Regions from separate parts of the Homo sapiens genome. Here regions 1, 2, 3 and 5 are each linked to region 4. The links are contacts of gene promoters, found by promoter capture Hi-C in blood cells and fetal thymus (Javierre and others, 2016). All regions are on one chromosome and are shown on one strand. The core of a region is centred on a gene start or on the middle of the fragment in contact, and the rest is flanking DNA. Distances in the headings are between cores, read along the strand shown. Region 1 has its middle 15 kb from the start of KRABD5. Region 2 has its middle 20 kb from the start of ZNF267. Region 3 holds the start of ZNF267 (zinc finger protein 267). Region 4 holds the start of PRSS36 (serine protease 36). Region 5 has its middle 54 kb from the start of ZNF267.

Evidence for each region. The method cuts DNA at HindIII sites, captures the fragments that hold promoters and counts their contacts. A CHiCAGO score of 5 or more calls a contact.
Region 1: a contact is called between a fragment that was not itself captured here and the fragment with the promoter of PRSS36 in region 4, in 3 of 17 cell types (activated CD4 T cells, fetal thymus and endothelial precursors). The highest score is 7.0, in activated CD4 T cells.
Region 2: a contact is called between a fragment that was not itself captured here and the fragment with the promoter of PRSS36 in region 4, in 10 of 17 cell types (activated CD4 T cells, endothelial precursors, total CD4 T cells and 7 more). The highest score is 9.3, in activated CD4 T cells.
Region 3: a contact is called between the fragment with the promoter of ZNF267 here and the fragment with the promoter of PRSS36 in region 4, in 17 of 17 cell types (naive CD8 T cells, activated CD4 T cells, non-activated CD4 T cells and 14 more). The highest score is 34.9, in naive CD8 T cells.
Region 5: a contact is called between a fragment that was not itself captured here and the fragment with the promoter of PRSS36 in region 4, in 1 of 17 cell types (naive CD4 T cells). The highest score is 5.6, in naive CD4 T cells.

The regions. Positions count from the first base shown.
Region 1 is chr16:31,696,721-31,700,492 of GRCh38, reverse strand. No RefSeq gene overlaps it. Among named protein-coding and RNA genes, the nearest start is that of KRABD5, 15 kb to the left of the region's middle. RefSeq lists a silencer at 1-76. The HindIII fragment of the contact is 5,761 bases long and covers 1-3,772 here.
Region 2 is chr16:31,851,931-31,855,709 of GRCh38, reverse strand. No RefSeq gene overlaps it. Among named protein-coding and RNA genes, the nearest start is that of ZNF267, 20 kb to the left of the region's middle. The HindIII fragment of the contact is 1,077 bases long and covers 1,513-2,589 here.
Region 3 is chr16:31,872,212-31,875,994 of GRCh38, reverse strand. It overlaps ZNF267 (zinc finger protein 267), which reads right to left and starts at 2,188. Exons shown (of 4, transcript NM_003414.6): 1 at 2,026-2,188. The coding sequence starts at 2,028. RefSeq lists silencers at 1,907-1,986, 2,137-2,186 and an enhancer at 2,073-2,367. The HindIII fragment of the contact is 12,710 bases long and covers 1-3,783 here.
Region 4 is chr16:31,148,766-31,152,282 of GRCh38, reverse strand. PRSS36 (serine protease 36) reads left to right here and starts at 2,217. Exons shown (of 15, transcript NM_173502.5): 1 at 2,217-2,284; 2 at 2,552-2,587; 3 at 2,785-2,820; 4 at 3,048-3,210. The coding sequence starts at 2,248. RefSeq lists enhancers at 1,973-2,509, 2,510-3,045, 3,046-3,517. The HindIII fragment of the contact is 9,446 bases long and covers 1-3,517 here.
Region 5 is chr16:31,925,855-31,929,287 of GRCh38, reverse strand. No RefSeq gene overlaps it. Among named protein-coding and RNA genes, the nearest start is that of ZNF267, 54 kb to the right of the region's middle. The HindIII fragment of the contact is 231 bases long and covers 1,379-1,609 here.

The DNA.
Region 1 (3,772 bases), core at 36-2,535, 550 kb before region 4:
CCCCCTTACCCCCGAGTGACAGGAGATGCGATCACAGGTGTGGCTGAATGAGGCCTGAATGAATGATTGTCTGCAGCCCTTTTCAGGCAGGGCTGACTCCCTGTGCTGGGACCTGGGGCTGCTCCGGACATTGGTATTTAACTTTGCTCATAAGATTATATCAATTTATGAGTAATATAGGTAATATGTAAAATTGAAAATTATATAATAACGATTCTTTTAAAATTTCAGATTTCATAACCTTCATGGCCTCTGGTCCCTTGTGGAGGCAGCATGAGATTTGAAAATGGAGGGAGTCCTCTAAGTCAGAAATGTCCAATAGGAATAAAATTGAGCCGCATGTGTCATTTACAGTAGCCTAGTGGCATCATGAAAGGAAAACAGGTAAAATTGATGGTAATACCTTAACCCGATATATCCAAAATATTATCACTCAAATATGTGAGCAATATGAAATTATTAATGAAGACCACCAGAGAATGCTTCTTAAGTTTGGGGTACTAAATCTTGTAAAGTCACTCTGTATTTAAACTTCTAGCACATCTCAGTTCCAACCAGCTCTATCCAAAGAGCTCAGCAGCCCCACGTGGGCAGTGGCTTCCGCATTGAAGAGCAGATCTGAGGGCACTTGCGCGTCTAACCTCAGGGAAATCGAGGGCCTGGACCCCCTTTCCTGCCAGACGAGAGCGAACACCCTCATCCTGCCCATCTCTTTCCTCATGCCCAAGGGTGGGAGAGGCAGTGCCCAGTGAGAGAGCCAGGGCTGCAGTCAGGAGGTGTCCACAGGTCGACCACTGCTGCCCACCTGCTTCTGGGCAGGGCTCCCTCAGCCTTCCAAAGGTCAGACAGTGAATGAAGAGTGTCAGGCTTCAGGAGGAAACCCCTGACTTCAGATCTGTCTACAGCCTTGACCTCCAAAGTTTGGATGTGGAGGGAATAAAAGCAAATTTTTTTTATTTTGCAATTTGCCCTTGGCCCTGATGGTTAGGCTATGGCGGGCTGTTTCCTCCTATGGTGTGGGGACTGTGTGAGTTTAAGCACCAAGCATGTCAACATGCATTTCTGTATAATTTATCCCTATCCAACAAGAGGCCCCACTTTAAATAAAGGGAAAAGCAAATCAATACCTTATACAGTGCCTTCTGTTTGCCAGGTAACAACAAGTAGTGACCAACCTGTCATTTGAATCCTGGCAACCTGACTGCAGGTGTATGTATCAGTTAGCTATTGCTGCATTAAAAACCACCCTAAACCTTATTAGCTCATGATTGGGATGGTCAGTCATTTAGGCTGGACTCAACTGGGCCATTCTTCTGGTCTCAGCTGGGCTCCTTCAGGCGTGTGTGGTCAGCTGCTGGTTGACTAAGTGGCTCTGCTTCTGGGTGTCAGCTGGGGCACCTTGGTTTTCCTCCCCAGTGGGATCTCATCCTCCAGCAGGCTAACATGTGCTTGTTCTCATGGAGATGGCAGGGTTCTAAAAGAAAAAGCAGAAGCATTCAAGGCCTTATGTCCCTAGACCCCAAACTGTCACATTGCCATATTGATAGCTTTCTATTGCCCAGAGCAAATAAGGCCAGCCCAGATCCAAGCGTCAGGAAACAGATTCTGCCTCTATGTTGGAGCAGCTGTAAAAGCATATTCCAAAGGGCATGGACACCAGAGCCATTTTGCAGTCAGTATCATTCTGCCTTTTCTTACAGCAAGGTTTATATAACTGTTCCAAGTCAAGGAACATGTCCAAAGCACTACAGCTACTAAGTGGCTGGACTGGGACTCTGGATCAACTTTGCCTGACTCCAAAGCCCATGTACCTCCATAGACCTCACAACTCAAGCAGCTTCCCTAGGCCTTTGAGATCCTGAAGACTGACTCTTCTGCAATAGAATAAAGGTTCTTTTGAGATGCTCATCCTTCTAGTAGGATTATTCACAATTAGGAGTAATCCCCACCAGAGAATGCTTCTGAAATGTCTTGCAAACATTTAGATTAACTTGGGAAAATGGCTGATGGCTGAGTTTAAAAAATCAAGGCATAACTTTTTCATTTCTTACCATAGGAGAGATCTGAAAACACATATAATGCACGAACATGTGTGCAAATTATTTTCATCCCCGTGCGTTATTTGTAGTCTGATTATGATTTTTAACACAGACTAAATTAAACTACTGTTCCCGAAACAACGTTTTACTCTGAAAGCAAGAGACACAAAGGTAGATCTGCCGAGAAGACATTTCCTCCTGCCTCAATTTAGCCAAACAGCTGAGTACGTCTTAAAGTCAGCCTTCGATTTCTAACAAGTCAAGCTGTTTGCCAAGACCTCAATCAGATCATAAGAGTGCTTCAGCTACTTCATCATCCTAGAAGGTTGACCAGACAGATCGAAGCTCTGGGGGTGGAGTGGTGAGAGCACCCGCACTAGCAGGTGGGCAGCCATAGGTCCATAGATGAGAGTCATTCATTAGGTGGGGTGTTTTGGGGTCCTGACATTTATGACACAATTAATGTCTATATTACTAAATGTAAATTTTAAAACATTACAAATAATAAATCTACATATAAACTGAATATGTCAGCAATTACAATTATTGTTATTCATCATTATTCTAAGTGTGATCATTATTATTACCACAATTAGAAATAGTGGTTGTGATTGTTGTTGCTGCTGCTGCTGCTGTTGCTGCAGGGATGGTGATAAAAACACCGGGTAAGGCTCTGCTGCCTCCTCCACTTGTGGCATCGGGAGCTGCTGGCTCACTAGTTTGGTGCACACTCTGGACCTCTTTGGTGAAGCTGCAGCTGAAGAGCCTTCAGGCTCTGCTATGGCAGAGAAAGAGCCTGAGTCAAGGCCGAGAGCAGAATCCTGTGAATTTGAAAGTGGCAGGTAGGATGGTCCCGGGGTGCAGTTGATGGTGAAGAGGCACACACCACTTAGTGAATGAGTGGAAGCCTTTGGTGAAAGGCAGAGTTTGTCCATGACACAGATCAGATTCCACTTTGACTGGGGCCAATCAGTGAAACAGACACATCTGCAGAACTGGAAACAGAGGACAAAGATTCAGTTGATGTGTTCCAGAAGCAGACTGGAGTGTCTACTGAGAACACACTCACGGCTTTACCCCAGAACTCTGTTCCTACAGACATTCTCATGTGGAAAACTGCAATATGGTTCCACCACGTCTGATTGGTCCAGTATCCCCTTCTCTATTCTTCACTTTCTCCTTCCTTATTCCTTTACTGTACATAAATTATCAAGTGTAGCTGCACAAGCATATTGATGATTTTGTTTGCTTGCTTGTTTGATTGTACCGAATGGCCACCAGTTTGTGTTGAGTGATTGCCAATGGACACAAGGCGAGGGAAAACACTGATTCTGGGAAAAGACTCCCTTTCTCCACCAGGGGATGCTCACTTACCTCTTATCTCTATGTTCCAGGACTTTAACAACATAACAAACATAATGATCCTTAACGCTTGTTGCAGGGAGAAGAAAAAACCATAATAATCTTTGCATACATTGTTCGATTGGAGAATTTTGTTTTTGAAATATTCCATTGTGAAACTAAGGACAATTTCTTAACTTTCTTAAATGTAGCTGTTACACATAGGGCAAATCTGTCCTCACACAGGACTAAGTGACACTTACAACAACAGAATGAATCCCAGATATGTTCCTCTTCAAATCTGGCCTCTGGTTGTTTAAACATACATCTCGTGTAAAATATATATATTTAAAAATGTGTATAAATAGAAACATGAAGTTCCTCTAGCCACC
Region 2 (3,779 bases), core at 802-3,301, 700 kb before region 4:
TCATAAGGAGCATACAGCCTGGATCACTGGCATGTGCAGTTCACAATAGGGTTTGAGCTCCTATGACAATCTAATGCTGCTGCTGATCTGACAGGAGGTAGAGCTCAGCTTCACTGGCTCACCTGCCACTCACCTCCTGCTGAGCTTCCTGGTTCCTAACAAGCCAGGGGTGGGTATTGGTCTGTGACCCGACGGTTGGGGACCCCTGGTCTAAAGTACAGTTTAAATCTGATGTTTCATTATTGATTTTCTGTCTAGGTAATCTTCCAGGGCTTGTCTAGTGGTGATGAATTTCTTCAGTTTTTGCTTGTCTGGGAACGTCTTTATTTCTCCTTCATTATGAGGTATAACCTTGCTTAGGCTGTGTTTGCTAGTTGAGGCTGTGGTGAGGTTTTGGTAGGAATGGAACACCAGATAGGCCAGTCCTTCAGCCCCCATGGTGACAGTGGCAGCAGTAAAGGGTTGAGGGTGTCTGTCCTTGGGCTGCTGGGTAGTGTATGTGGGCACTGGTGTTAGTGTGCCTAAGCCTGTTGATTCTCAGGCCTTCAGGAGGCTTGCTCTGATGTCTGTAGTAACAGCAGTGGGCTAGGAAATGGGGCAAGTCCTCAGGCCTCTGAGCAGTGTGTACCGTGTGGATGAGGAGAGTAGTGGGGTTGAGGCAACTTCAGGCTTCCAGGCAGCACTCACAGTGTTTGTGGTGGCTGCAATGGGCTGAATCAGACAGTCCCTAGAGCCTTAGGTGACACATGAGTGTGGATGCTGGTGGTTGTCTGGGTGGGCCCATCCTTAGGACCCCAAGAGTACCCAGATGACAGCAGTGGTGGATGGCATGGGAGATTCCTAGACCTTTAGACAGCATGCTTGAGTGCTGGCTGCACATTTTCTTGGCCTGTTTTTAGGACCCTGGTGGACTCATGCCAGAGGCTACCACCTGTACAATGCTGTCCTCAGGTCCACAAGTGGAATATTTGACCACTAAGGGTGGGAGAGAGGCAGGTGAGGTGGGCCTGTTCTCAAGTCCTCCTAGTGATGCACATGAGCATAGGCTGTGGGCAGGGCAGGGGAAGTCCCAGACCTCTGGAGCTCATGCTAGGGCACCAGTGATGGCAGGCCTTCTGGAGCTGTTATTAGGCCCCTGGGAGATGGGTGCACCAAAATCTCAGAAATCGCCACTAAAGAATTTATTCATGTGCAAATAAATAAATAAATAAATAAATTCACTTACACTGTCTTATAATTATGTAATTAGTTTTGCTAGTGTGTGCTTTGTCTTTCTTATGCATTCAAATTATTGTCTGGATTTACTTGCTTTCAGCCTGAAAAACTTCTTTTGCCATTTTTTCATAAGGTCAGTTGGCTAGCAACAAATTGTATCAGTTTTTATTTACATAAAATGTTTTTATTTAACCTTCATTTTTAATAGCTAGTTTTTGTGGGTATAGGGTTCTTATTAGGCAGGCTTTTTCTGTGAGCATCAGACAAAATAATTTATAAAGAAGTAATTGAAAAGCTTCAGAGAAGGAAAATAAATCAAGACCTAAGGACACTGACTGGATTGAGCACCAACGTCATAGTGATGGCAGCTGGGTTTAAGATGACAGGGAGAATTGTCACTGAAGACAGTAGAAGTCTGGGGATCAAGTGGTCCTGACTGCAGCTGAATGGAAAGTTTATTTTGTATTTTATTTTATTTTAATTTTTGAGACAGAATCTCGCTCTGTTGCCCAGCCTAGAGTGCAGTGGCCCGATCTCAGCTCACTGCAACCTCTGCCTCCTGGGTTTGAGTGATTCTTCTGCCTCAGCTTCCTGAATAGCTGGGATTCCAGGTGCCTGCCATGATGCCTGGCTAATTTCCGTGTTTTTAGTAGAGACGGGGTTTCACCGTATTGGCCAGCTGGTCTCAAACTCCTGACCTGAAGTGATCCGCCTGCCTTGGCCTCCCAAAGGGCTGGGATTGCAGGCATGAGCCACCGTGCCCGGCCTGGAGAGTTTATTTGTTAGAGCCTCAGATATGGCACATGAGAGGTACACCAGCATGAACTCAAACATATTCAGAACTGGTGCCTTGGGGGAAAATCTATAGATTAAGTGCATGAGAAGTCACCACTTCAGTATCAGATGATGTTTGATTAAGAAAGTGTAACTCCAAATGTGGCAATCATGATCAAGGTTAAAGTTAGCACTAGTTATAACATAGGTGTGGTTGGTGGTGTCTCAGAAGCAAATAAAAGTTGTCAGTTGCTAAGAATGTGTTAATCATTTTATTCCACATGCTCTCATGCTGACTGTGTAGTTAAACATCCCTGTAAGTAGAAACAACTTCACTGTAAGCGCTATGTAAGCCTGGTGCAGGGGGCATTTTCTTCATTCCCAAAAAAGTTTTACATAGACTACCTGTAATATTGAAACGTAGGGACAACTGGGGACCATGTGTGAAGGCCCCCAGAAATTTCTTCAGTTAGCAAGGATGTTTGGTAAAGCAACACAGAAATTAAACAAAGTTTGAAACTATAGTTATTGCTTCTACTTTATTGGCAATAACTGAGACCAGACAACCCTCCTGGGCAAAATTACCTAAGAAAACAAGCTTGCACACGTTAAAGTTTGAAACCCATCTGTCCTACACTGATCTTTTCCAGGAATTAAATGTGTTCAGTTTTTCCTTTTGTTGCTCCCCTTTCCAATAATCTCGAGGCCAGGGCTGTCCTGCTTCTACAGGTGACATGACAGTTATGGGCCTGGAGGGAGACGAGCTGACAGTATCCCTTCTTTATAACCAAGTCTCAGGGACCACCATCCACACACACAGACTCACTCCAGGACTCCGCTGGGCAAATGGATGTTTCTCAGCTTTAGTAAAAGTGAGTGATCACGACTTACGTTGGTAGTGGCAGGAGGATTTTCTCAATGATGTAGATAACTCTCTCATAATTTTGTTCTTGTGTCTCACTGAATTATAACTATTTTCAGATAAAAATATAAATTTTAATATCATGAGCACATAAATTTACAGATGTTCGAAAGGATATTTGTAATTTTGTAATGGTATATGTTATAGGTAAGACGTTTATTTAGAAACAGAATGCTTGTTTTTCGGTCATGTAAGGAAAAATTAGCATTTAGACAAAAAGGTTTTTTTAGCAAGGAAATTTTACTTTCTGCAGAAAGGGTGCTCCTTGCAGATGGAACAATGGCAAGAGCACATTTGAACAAGGGAGGGAAGCAATTTTTATTTTTTATGTAGCTTGTCCCTGCTCTTGTGTCCTGTTTTTATTGGCTGGAGACAGACTTCATAATTTAAATTAAAACCTGATTGGCTAATAACTTAAAATTTTTTAAACAGGTAAAAGCAATGGAAAGATAAATGAAAAGAGGAAGTTGTTTATGAAAGGACTTAGAAAAGTAATAACATTCCTAAATAAGGAAGTGACAGGCTGTGAGCTGGGACATGCCTGTGAGCACATCCAGGACAGGTATTTCCGTTAAGGCACAAGGACATAGAATGTACTATGTGCCTGTGAGCATGTTTAACAGCTACATAGGATAGGGCTTAAACAAAGAGTTATTAGCACAAAGTAAGGAGGCTTGAAAGAAATTAGTCTTTAAAAGAAACTATTATTTCTAACACTTATTTATCCTGTAACAAGAATGGAAACTTTGAAGAGGAAACTTTTTACTTTCTGCAATTCCTTCCTTTTGATTTTATAGCTTTTTTTCTTTAAAATTTTTTAACATGTTTTGGTTTAGCTGTTTTGCTTGAGTTTTTAAAAGAAAAAGTT
Region 3 (3,783 bases), core at 939-3,438, 720 kb before region 4:
TTCTGTTTTAAATTACTCCCAAAAAAAGAACAAACCTGAGAAACTTACTACACTCATTCTGCTGAAAAAAAAGATAGTAAGAATTTTTAACAATGAAGTATGACTTGATATTTTAATTTTCTGAAATCCACCTTTCATGGCCTTGGAAATGTTTTTTATCTTTCAAGCTCTACTGATGAAATTTACACTAACTGAAAAACTGAAGTAGAAATAAATGAACAATCTAAGGCAGCAAACTCAGGGAGTGGTAATGCTGTTGGAATACAGACATATCTGGCTCAAGTGTCAAGTCAGGTCACGGTATCATTTGAGACATTCTCCTACCCCAATACTGCTCATTAAAATGCTCAGGGACCATCCTCCCAGATCCTGCACTGTGCCCCATGGACACCGCAGCCGAGTTTGCACCACCTCACTGGGGTGGGGTTTTTGTTTTTTGGTCCTTTGGGAGTTTTTCTCCCTTCACAAATCTGAATGAATCTAGGGGGCAGGAATCATTTGTGACTGTTTCCCCTCAATACCAGCAAACGATTGGCTGACCAGCAATGTGTCTCCAAGGGATGAAAACTAGCTTTGAAGAAATAAAATCCTTATGTCCCAAGGGGTTATCTTTTTAGGTTAAGGGTGTCCCAGGAGATTTCTCTCAGCCCCAGGGCATCCAGCTGCTCCCCTGAGGGACTACATTTCCATACCTTGGGCGGTCCTCTAACAGGAGGTGACCTGGGGCTGACAGTCACTAAACACTCCAGGAGACATGGCCACTGTGGGCATCTTGAGTCATCCCAGACAGTTCTGAAATTCAGGAACAGGAAAAGACTGGATAGAGGGTGGCTATACAGGGCCCTGTAAAGTTTCCAAAGCAAAACCTCAAGTCAAAAGACATTCTTTCCGATAACGTGTCTGTGCCTGGGGAAGATGAATGAAAAAGAGGCACAGTTTTTTTTGCAGTGGAGTGTCAGGGATTTTTTATTCTCTGCTTTCCTCTCACGTGAAATGTATGCCAAAAAAACACAAATCTTTAAAAAAGTGTCATCCACTGCTCTGTGAAATCATGATTAATGAGTAAAATACTGTCTGAAATGTACAATAAATGACCAATAGTTAAGAATGTGAACTGGAGAGGGGAAGTTGGCCTTTGGAAATGTCGGGAAGGAACTGGAAATTTAATATTTTATTGCAAGCCCAGTTAGACTGGGGGAACACAGTGGTGGACTTGAGACTCTGCGTGCTACACGTTAGGAAAGCGCAGGGGGAAAACCAGTTCCCCTGGGCAGTGTTAAGATGATTAATGAGCAGGCGATTATACGGAAGTGGTTATAGTGCCCCAGGTTTCTAGGGAGAAAAACCAAAACCAAACTCAAATGCTTTTCTTGTAAATTACAACTTTAGGGGAAAACAAAATTCAGACTTAACGAACCACAAAGCTCCAATTCACCTCCACCTGCATAGTCTAAATAAGGCAACTACAAACTGTAACCCATCGGTTAATTTGGTCTGCTTCCTCATGCACCTTATAAAAACCTTTCCTTCAAGCCCCTCTGGGGATCTCCGAACCACAAACCAGGACTGCAGGCTTCCCATGTCACAAATCGCTATTTGCTCAAATTCTTCAACGTTTTAACAGTGACTCCCTTTAATTCTTAAGAGGAGTAGTGACTGAGGACCCCACAGGGCACGGTTTCTTCCCACACACCGAACCTGGGTCTCCCCTGAGACGCTCCCGTCCTCACCGCACAATCTGGGGGAGACGCGGGGCTGCGACGCGGAGCTGCCCAGAGAGGGCTCCGGCCAGGGACGAGGTCGCTCTGCGGGGTCGGGATGGGACAGGACACGCGGGGTCCCGGCTGCCGGCCTGGCCGCCATCTTGCAGCGGAGGGGACCGAGGGCCGAGCTGCACCAGTTGGGACTCGGGGCCCAGACCCCGAGGCTGACTGCGGGGAGGCCCGGGTGCCCCTACAGCGGGTTCCCGCCGCTTCCGACCACCGCCCTCCCTCCCTCTGGGGACCCCCGACCCCGCACACTCACCATTTCCCAGCTTCCGGGATGCCCTGGCGTCTTAGCTACGAATCTCCCAGTGCCTGCAAGTCGCAGAGCAACAGAGGTTCTGTTTATTCTCAGAACGCGAAGCCGCCTGGGCCTCCCAGAACGAAAGACTCGGAGCTGTGGCGAGGAGACCCGAGCTCTAACTGGAGCCGACGAAGGCCCCCGCCAAATCCCGGAAGCCGCCCCTGCTCTCCGGCTTCACTCCTGATTGGACGGTTTCCACTCCAGCGCCCCTGATTGGATAAAGCTCCATGCCCCGCCCCCTCATTATTAGTGCCTTTTTTTTTTTTTTTTTTGAAAGGGAGACTGGCTCATTGAGGTGGGGCCGCCTGCTGCGGGTATTACAGCTAATTAAGGGGTGAGCTGCGACTTGAAATACACTTGCTCTTTCCCTTACCTGGTTCTGCTTGTATAAGACATCTTATTAGCTAATTAAGTTTAAGAAGAAGTATATTTAGACACCTTTAAAGCAAGAAAGACCCTCATCCCGTCCCTTAGCACCTCTCTTACCGCACTGTACCCCACTGCTAACGCCACCGTGGGAGGGGGCCCCTCAGCTGGGAACAGAAGGCCGTACACTTCATTCACGTGTTTTCAATTAGGCCCTCGCATGATACATAGACTGAACCAGTGCAAAAGCATCTTATAGGGGCATGCAGGCTGGGGTCCCAGGAGGATGTTGCGGGCCGTGGTGGAACGTGGAAGAGGGGCTGGCCTATTCTTCTAATCTACAACTCTGCCCGCATCTCCTGGAGTCTGCATCACTGGTAACGGGGCCGCTGACTGTCCGTCTGTCTCTCCTTCTCAATCCCTTCAAGCTCAGGGAAGAAGGGTCCTTGGCAGCGACAGGGCTGGGAGCTCAGTTCCTCTGGGCCGTGCTGGCTCAGGCTCTGTGGCCACGGACTCCTCAGCCCTACCTCTGGTTTTTGCTTTTGTTTTGAGACAGGGTCTCACTCTATTGCCCAGGCTGGTGCAGTGGTGCAGTCATGGCTCACTGCAGCCTCCGGGGCTCAAGCAATCTTCCCACCTCAGCCTCCTGAGTAGCTGGGACTACAGGCACATGCCACCATGCCCGGCTGATTTTTGTATTTTTTGTAGAGATGAGGTTTCACCATGTTGCCCAGGCTGGTCTCCATCTCCTGAGCTCAAGCGATCCTCCCACCTTAGCCTCCCAAGTAACTGGGGCTACAGGTTAATAGTCAGTTCGCCAACTCCTGAGCTCAAGTATTCTGTCTGCTTTGACCTGCCAGAATGCCCTATTCCTGTTTTTCTGGAGTCTTGGAGCTAGTGGCGCTGCAGCACCTCGTAGTCTTCCGGCTGAGTAGATTCTCCTAGTCTTCTGGCTGAGTAGAAGGTGGGAGAGGAGGTGGGTGTCAAACTGGGCCAGGGCCCTCGGCCGCCATCTAGCTTGGTTAAACTCCCACTTGGGACAGATCAGGCTCTGTGCCTTATTCAGTGAGACGTGTGGAACAAATGCTTCCCTCCCCAAAGCAGAAACATCCCTGATTGCTGACAGTCAGGATTCCATGCACTTGTCTTGGCCTGGGGCATGGCTGCCTCTCACCCTCTCACCCAGTTCTAGTCGCTGCACTCTGTGGCCTCCCTGCCACCAGATTAGGTGTAGACAACGGGTGTGGGACAGGGCTGCTGACACCACTGGCTGACCAAACCCCTTTCCCACACTGAAGGGAGAAAAGACAGGAGGTTAGGGGCTCCCAAAGGCAGCACTGCTTGTGACAG
Region 4 (3,517 bases), core at 968-3,467:
AAGCACAAGCATGCAGGCTTTGCCTAGGCCTGTTTTCTAGGGCAACTAGACTCATAGACCAATATTATTATTAATTGATATTATCAGTAAGAAGATAGATACACATGTGTAAATATTCCTGGGTTGACCCTGCATTTCTGCTGTCCACCCTGATTTGTTCCCTAAGAGTGACCTTTATGGACCATATAATGGTCTCCCTTGAACTCTGGCCTCTGGGAGGTTTCAATGAAAAGAGCCAGGGGGTGATCAGAGGATGGGAGGATCCCAGCACTTTTGGAAGACTGAGGCAGCAAGATCGCTTGAGACAGGAGTTTGAGACCAGCCTGGGCAACATAATAAGACCCCATCTCTACAAAAATAAAAAACATTAGCTGGGTATGGTGGTGCGTGCCTGTAGTCCCAGCTTCTCAGGAGGCTGAGGCCAGAGGATCGCTTAAGCCCAGGAATTCGAGGTTACAGTGAGCTATAATCACAGCACTGCACTCCAGCCTGGGTGACAGAGTGAGACCGTGTCTCTAAAATTTTTTAATTGGTTTAATTAAAAATAGAGAGGATGAGATGAGAGTGAGATGGGGATTTTTCTTTCCCCACTCCCTCTCTGCTGGTAAAGGCTGCATTTCTCTATTGAAGGCCACGGCTCCTAACAGCTATCTCTTCCATAGCTGCAGCTCTTGCTGGGTTCCAGTAACTGCCCCCTCTCTGCCTCTTCAGGCCAGCAGGTAGCAAGGGCTCTCTATTATTGCTGGCCCCAGGATGCGTTACCATCCCTCTTTGGTTTCCTTTTTTTTTTTTTTTTTGTGAGACGGAGTTCGCTCTTGTCACCCAGGCTAGAGTGCAACGGCGCTATCTTGGCTCACTGCAACCTCCACGTCCTGGGTTCAAGCATTTTTATCTGCCTCAGCCTCCCTAATAGGTGGGATTACAGGTGAGTTCCACCACACTCGGCTAATTTTTGTATTTTTAGTATAGATGGGGCTTCTCCAAGTTAGCCAGGCTGGTCTTGAACTCCTGACCTCAGGTGATCTGCCCGCCTCGGCCTACCAAAGTGCTGGGATTACAGCCGTGAGCCACCCAGCCTCTTTGGTTTCCTTTGACCCTGCCTACACTTCTATAAATAGTTTCTTCCTTAAACTCTCTTCAACTCCTCTTTGAAGAGCCATATGTTTCTTTCTTCTTCTTATTCTTCTTTTTTTTTTTCTTTTTGTTGTTGTTGTTGAGACAGGGTCTCGCTTTGTCACCCAGGCTGGAGTGCAGTGGCACAATCATAGCTCACTGCAACCTCGACCTCCCAGGCTCAAGCAATCCTCCCACCTCATCTCCCGAGTAGCTGGGATACAGACGTGCACCACCACGCCCTGCAGTTCATAATTTTTGTATTTTTTAATTTTTTGTAGAGATGGGGTCTTGCTATGTTGACCAGGCTGGTCTTGAACTCCTAGCCTCAAGCAATCCTCCCACCTCAGTCTCCCAGAGTGTTAGGATCACAGGAGTGAGCCACCGTGCTCGGCCAAGTCATATGTCCCTTAAACTGGCTCTTACTGATACACACCAAGAGGTTGGGTTACTTTCCCAAAGTCACACAGAGTAAGTGACAGGGCAGCTAAGAGCATTGTCACTGGAACACAGAGCAGGGTGGAGGCTTTTTCAGCCTCGCCAGCCTGCCCAGCCCCCTCCCAGGGTCCCTATGCCCTGCCCAACCTGCTGGAATCTGTGATCCTTTTGTTGGGATGGGATTGAATTCCCTAGGGCTCCTGTCCCAGACCTGGCCAGCAGCTCCAGTAACCAGAGCTGTGTGAGAAGAAAAGGCCAAGCCACTGGGGCAGCCGCACCCCAAACAGAGGTGAGGTCTCCGATGAGTCATGCCCGTGAGGGGCCACTTCCCCTGTCCTAAGGGCCACTGCTCACCAAGGACACAGAACACTGTCCTCCTCTTTGACCTTTGCCTGCAGTGTTTTTCATCCCTCCCTCTCCCACCCAACAGGTGTCCAGGAGCTAGGACACCTGTCCTCCACCCCCACCCTGGGCCTCCAGAGACATGAGATGTGCGCAGGGCTCTGGGTGGGGCCTTCAGGCTCCCCAGCTTCCCCCTTCCAGCCCCAGATCCTCTCAGATTCCCAGAGATGGGCTCCAGCCAGGGAGGGTGGGGCTGCCCCTGGGACCATCAGGAGTCACGGGCTGCCTGGGCAGTGACAGAGCCCTGCAGGGAGCAGACCTTCACTTGGCTCTGCCTCCGCTGACTCTAGCGCCATGGCCCGGCACCTGCTCCTCCCCCTTGTGATGCTTGGTAACCTCAGGGGACAAGAGTGGCTGCAAAGGGCCTGGGTCCTGGCATCTGGGGGGCTGGAGAGCAGGATTCCTGGTTTCTGTGTGGGGAGCAGGAAGTCAGAGAGAAGGAAGTGAGGCAGCAGAAGGCGAGGATGTATCAGAGGAGGGAGAGGGAGGCCTGGGTGCCCTGGGGAGACGGAGGCTAGGAGGCTGGGGGAGGGAGTCAGGGAGGGCACATACTGAGTGCGAGTCGCCAGCCTCTTCCTGCCTACCTCTGTCTTTCCAGTCATCAGTCCCATCCCAGGAGCCTTCCAGGACTCAGGTAAGGTAGCCGGACTGGGGGAAAGTCACGTGCAGAGGCAGAAAAGACCAGAGGACTGGCATGGGTGCTGGCAGGGGTTGCTGAACGGACAGGGAAGTGGGAAGATAGGGTCGGGGGTTGGAGAGCAGGAAGTGGGGCTGGGCGGTGCAGGCCTGGAAGTCACAAGTGTCCTCCTCTCTTTCCCCTCTGGCTCCCAGCTCTCAGTCCTACCCAGGAAGAACCTGAAGATCTGGGTAAGGAAGAGGCCTTGGCACCCTCAGACCTTAAAGGAGGCTAAGGCTGGTCAGGCCATGAGGGAGGTGGAAAAGACCAGAAATGTAGACAAGCCTGGGTCCTCTATGTTCTTTGTTCAGAGGGGCAAACTGAAGTGGGTGGAGGACGGGCCTTCGTCCTGAGTTACCTGGGCTTCTGGAGTGGGGAACCCGAGGGGAGCTTTGGCTTCCACGGCTCCCCGTTGCAGACTGCGGGCGCCCTGAGCCCTCGGCCCGCATCGTGGGGGGCTCAAACGCGCAGCCGGGCACCTGGCCTTGGCAAGTGAGCCTGCACCATGGAGGTGGCCACATCTGCGGGGGCTCCCTCATCGCCCCCTCCTGGGTCCTCTCCGCTGCTCACTGTTTCATGACGTGAGTATTCGCCCTGGTCCTGGCCCCTCTCCGCCAAAAGCTGGCCCCCGCCCCCGCAGTTGGTCCCCTCCTCCCGCCCCACTTCCGTCCTCAAGGATAATTTGGAGCCAAGCTGTCCCCAAAGCGAGGTGCTATTCGAGGCATCATGGTTCCGAGTGGGGCAAGGCTGCCGGACTGGTCCCACCACTCCACTCAATATCCGGGTCTGAATCCCATCTTTCCAATGACCCCCCCACCACCAGCTCCAAATCGGATTTGCTCTTCCCCTTTGAGGAGTATCAGCACCAAATCTGGATCGGATAGCACC
Region 5 (3,433 bases), core at 245-2,744, 780 kb before region 4:
ATTGTTTATTTGAACCTTTTCTCTTTTTTATTTAATCTTCTAGCTAGTAGTCAATCTATCTTATTAATTCTTTCGAATAACCAACTTCTGAATTTATTGATCTATTATATGGGTTTTTTTAAATCTCAGTTTCCTTCAGTTCAGATCTGATTTTGGTTATTTCTTGTCTTCTGCTGGCTTTGGGGTTGGTTTGTTCTTGTTTCTCTAGTTCCTCCAGTTGTGATGTTAGGTTGTCAATTTCAGATGTAACTTTTTGATGTGGGTGTTTAGTGTATAAGTTTCTCTCTTAACCCTACTTTAGTGTTCCAGAGATTCTGGTATGTTGTATCTTTATTAGTTTCAAAGAATTTCATAATTTCTGCTTTAATTTCATTGTTTACCCAAAAGTCATTCAGGAACATGTTGTTTAATTTCCAAGTAATTGTATGGTTTTGATCAATTTTCTTAGTATTAATTTGTATTTTTCTTTCTCTCTGGTCTGTGACTGTGGTTGGTATGATTTTTTAAAAATCTGCTGAGGATTATTTTATATCTAATTGTGCAGTCAGTCTTAGAGTGTGTGTGCCATGTGCAGATGAGAAGAATGTGTATTCTGGTGTTTGGGGGTGGAGAGTTCTGTAGATCTCTATTAGGTTCATTTGGTCAAGTGTCGAGTTCAGGTCCTGAATACCTTTGTTAGTTTTCTGCCTCAATGATCTGTCTAATAACTCTGAATTCGTTGTTGAAGTCTCCCACTATTACTGTGTGGTTATCTAAGTTTCTTCACAGGTCTGTAAGAATTTGCTTCATGAACCTGGGTGCTCCTGTGATGCATGAATATATATTTAGGATAGTTAGGTCTTTTTGTTTAATTGAGTTCTTTGCCATTACGTAATGTCCTTCTTTGTCTTTTTTGATCTTTGTTAGTTTGAAGTCTATTTTGTCTGGAATTAAATAGCAACCCCAGGCTTTTTGTTTGTTTGTTTGCTTGGTAGATTTTTCTTCATCCCTTTTCTTTGAGCCTACAGGTATCATTGCATGTGAGATGTTTCCCTCAAAGACAGCATACCATTGGGTCTTGCTTCTTTGTCTAACTTGTTACTCTATGCCTTTTAATTGGGGCATTTAGCTCACTTACATTCAAGGTTAATATTGATATGTGCAGACTTCATCCTGTTATGTTGTTAGTTGGCTACTATGCAGACTTGTTTGTGTGGTTGCTTTATAGTGTCACTGGTCTATGTATTCAAATGTGTTTTTATAATGGCTGATAACAGTCTTTTATTTCCATATGTAGCACTCCCTTCAGGAACTCTTGTAAGGCAGGTCTGGTGGTAACAAATTTCATTAGTATTTGCTTGCCTGAAAAGGATCTTATTTCTCCTTCACTTATGAAGCTTAATTTGGCTGGATATAAAATTATTAGTCAGAAATTATTTTCTTTAAGAATGCTGAATATAGGTTCCCATTCTCTTCTGTCGTCATTTTGATATTTGACATGACACTAGTCTGGTAATTTAATTTGTGTTGTAATTCAGGTACTCACAGGATGAGATTCTGCATTTGGTTTTCAGCAATCTTGGCCTTGTGGTTACTGGAGATAAGCATCTTCATGGCAGACATAGAAGCTTTAAGGTCATGAACGTGGAATTTGGCATACACATTTTTTTTTCTGAGCTCATTCTTTTCTTTCCCCACTTTGTCCACGGACATTACAAACAACCAGTCAATATTCATATATTTTTATTTTGACAAAAATGTTTCAAAGTATTATAGGCATGGTTGTCCAGGTTCTTGATTCTAAAAATGCTTCATTAGGGGTATTCAATGGCAATATTCTGCACCTTTTTTGCCATGTCATGACATGCACTATCAATGCTCTTATTACTACTGGAAATAATTAATAGTGTCTGAATTTAATCAAATTATTGAGCCCAATACAGAAACTTCAGAACCAAAAAATAAGATTTATCCAGGTCATTCCTATAAAACCACTCTTAGTACCAAAATCTGTATTAGCCAAGATTCTTTAGAGAAATAGAGCCAATGGTATATTGTATAAATTATCTCAAGTTTTCATAACAAGTACCACAAACTGGATGGACTAAACAGCATACAATTATTTTTCTACAATTCTGGATGCTTTAAGTCCAAGATCAAGGTCCTATTATGCAGGGTTGGTTTCCAGTAACTCGTCTCTTCCTGGCTTATTGGAGGCTCCCTTCTGTGTTCTCATATAGCTTTCCTCTCTGTGTGTGGAGAAAGAGCTTTCTGGTGTCCCTTCCTCTTCTTATAAAGATACCATTCCTACCAGAATAAGGGCTCTCCCTTATGAATTCATTTAACCTTAATATATGTAGTGTATAATTCAATACTTATAATACATATTATATACTATATGATAACATGCACACATGCACACACGTGTGTATGTTTGTGTATGATAATATAGTATATAATATACATATACATGTATGTGTGTGTATATATATATGTACACACACAGGCTCATTTGATTATGGAGACTGGCAAGTCCAAATCTGCAATGTGGGCTGAGAAGATTAAGACTGAGATCTGAGAGGGCAATTCCAGTTTTAATTTTGAGGAAAATTTGACATAGTTAATGGTGCAGATAAAGTACAAAAGCGATCTAATGGAGATATTTCTCTTGCTCAGGAAGGCTGGCTTTTTTGTTTTATTTAAACCTTCAAATGATTGGATGAGGCCTAACCCGCAGTATGTAGGACAATCTGCTTACTCAAAGATTACAAATTTAAATGGTAATGTCATCAAAAAGAAAGAGCCCTCCATATTGATATAAGATTAACCCACAGAACCCTAATTTTAATGCCTGAAAATCAGGGGAGAGGGTGTCAGTCATTTGCTGATGTTGTTATAATGCAATAGAAGGCAGCACACTCAGTTTCTTTATTTATATTATCATGTTTCTCTTGTTTTGTGGTACTACAACGCTGGTGGGCTAACACTGGTGAGTTTTTTTGGGCCATGTATTCCATTATGTTCAAGATGACATAGGATATAAGGAATACATTTTATTACTGATTTGTTGGAAGACTTTCCAGGCAATCTTAAATTAGTTCAGGATGTCAGAAGAATCCTTAGTCAACAAAAAAGTCTGTGAGTAGAAACTTTGAGTTTGGAAAGGATGATGTAGACCCTATAGTGTGACAAGTCCTCCACTAGATAACTTAAAGGTGTATATCCACTGCTTGAGCACTGAAGGCCAGGTAGTGAGCCAAGGCCATGGGGACCAGCTGAGGAGCAGGTGTTTCTGAGAATGCAAACATCCTAGAGAGTATCTGAGAACATACCAAGGGAGAGTCCCATGATACACACATGGTAGGCAAAAAGCTGTAAAAGTGCTTAAAAGCAGCTTAGAGATGGGAGGTGATGTGGACTCTAACGCTGTCCTGCTGCCTCCTAGGAGGGTCCC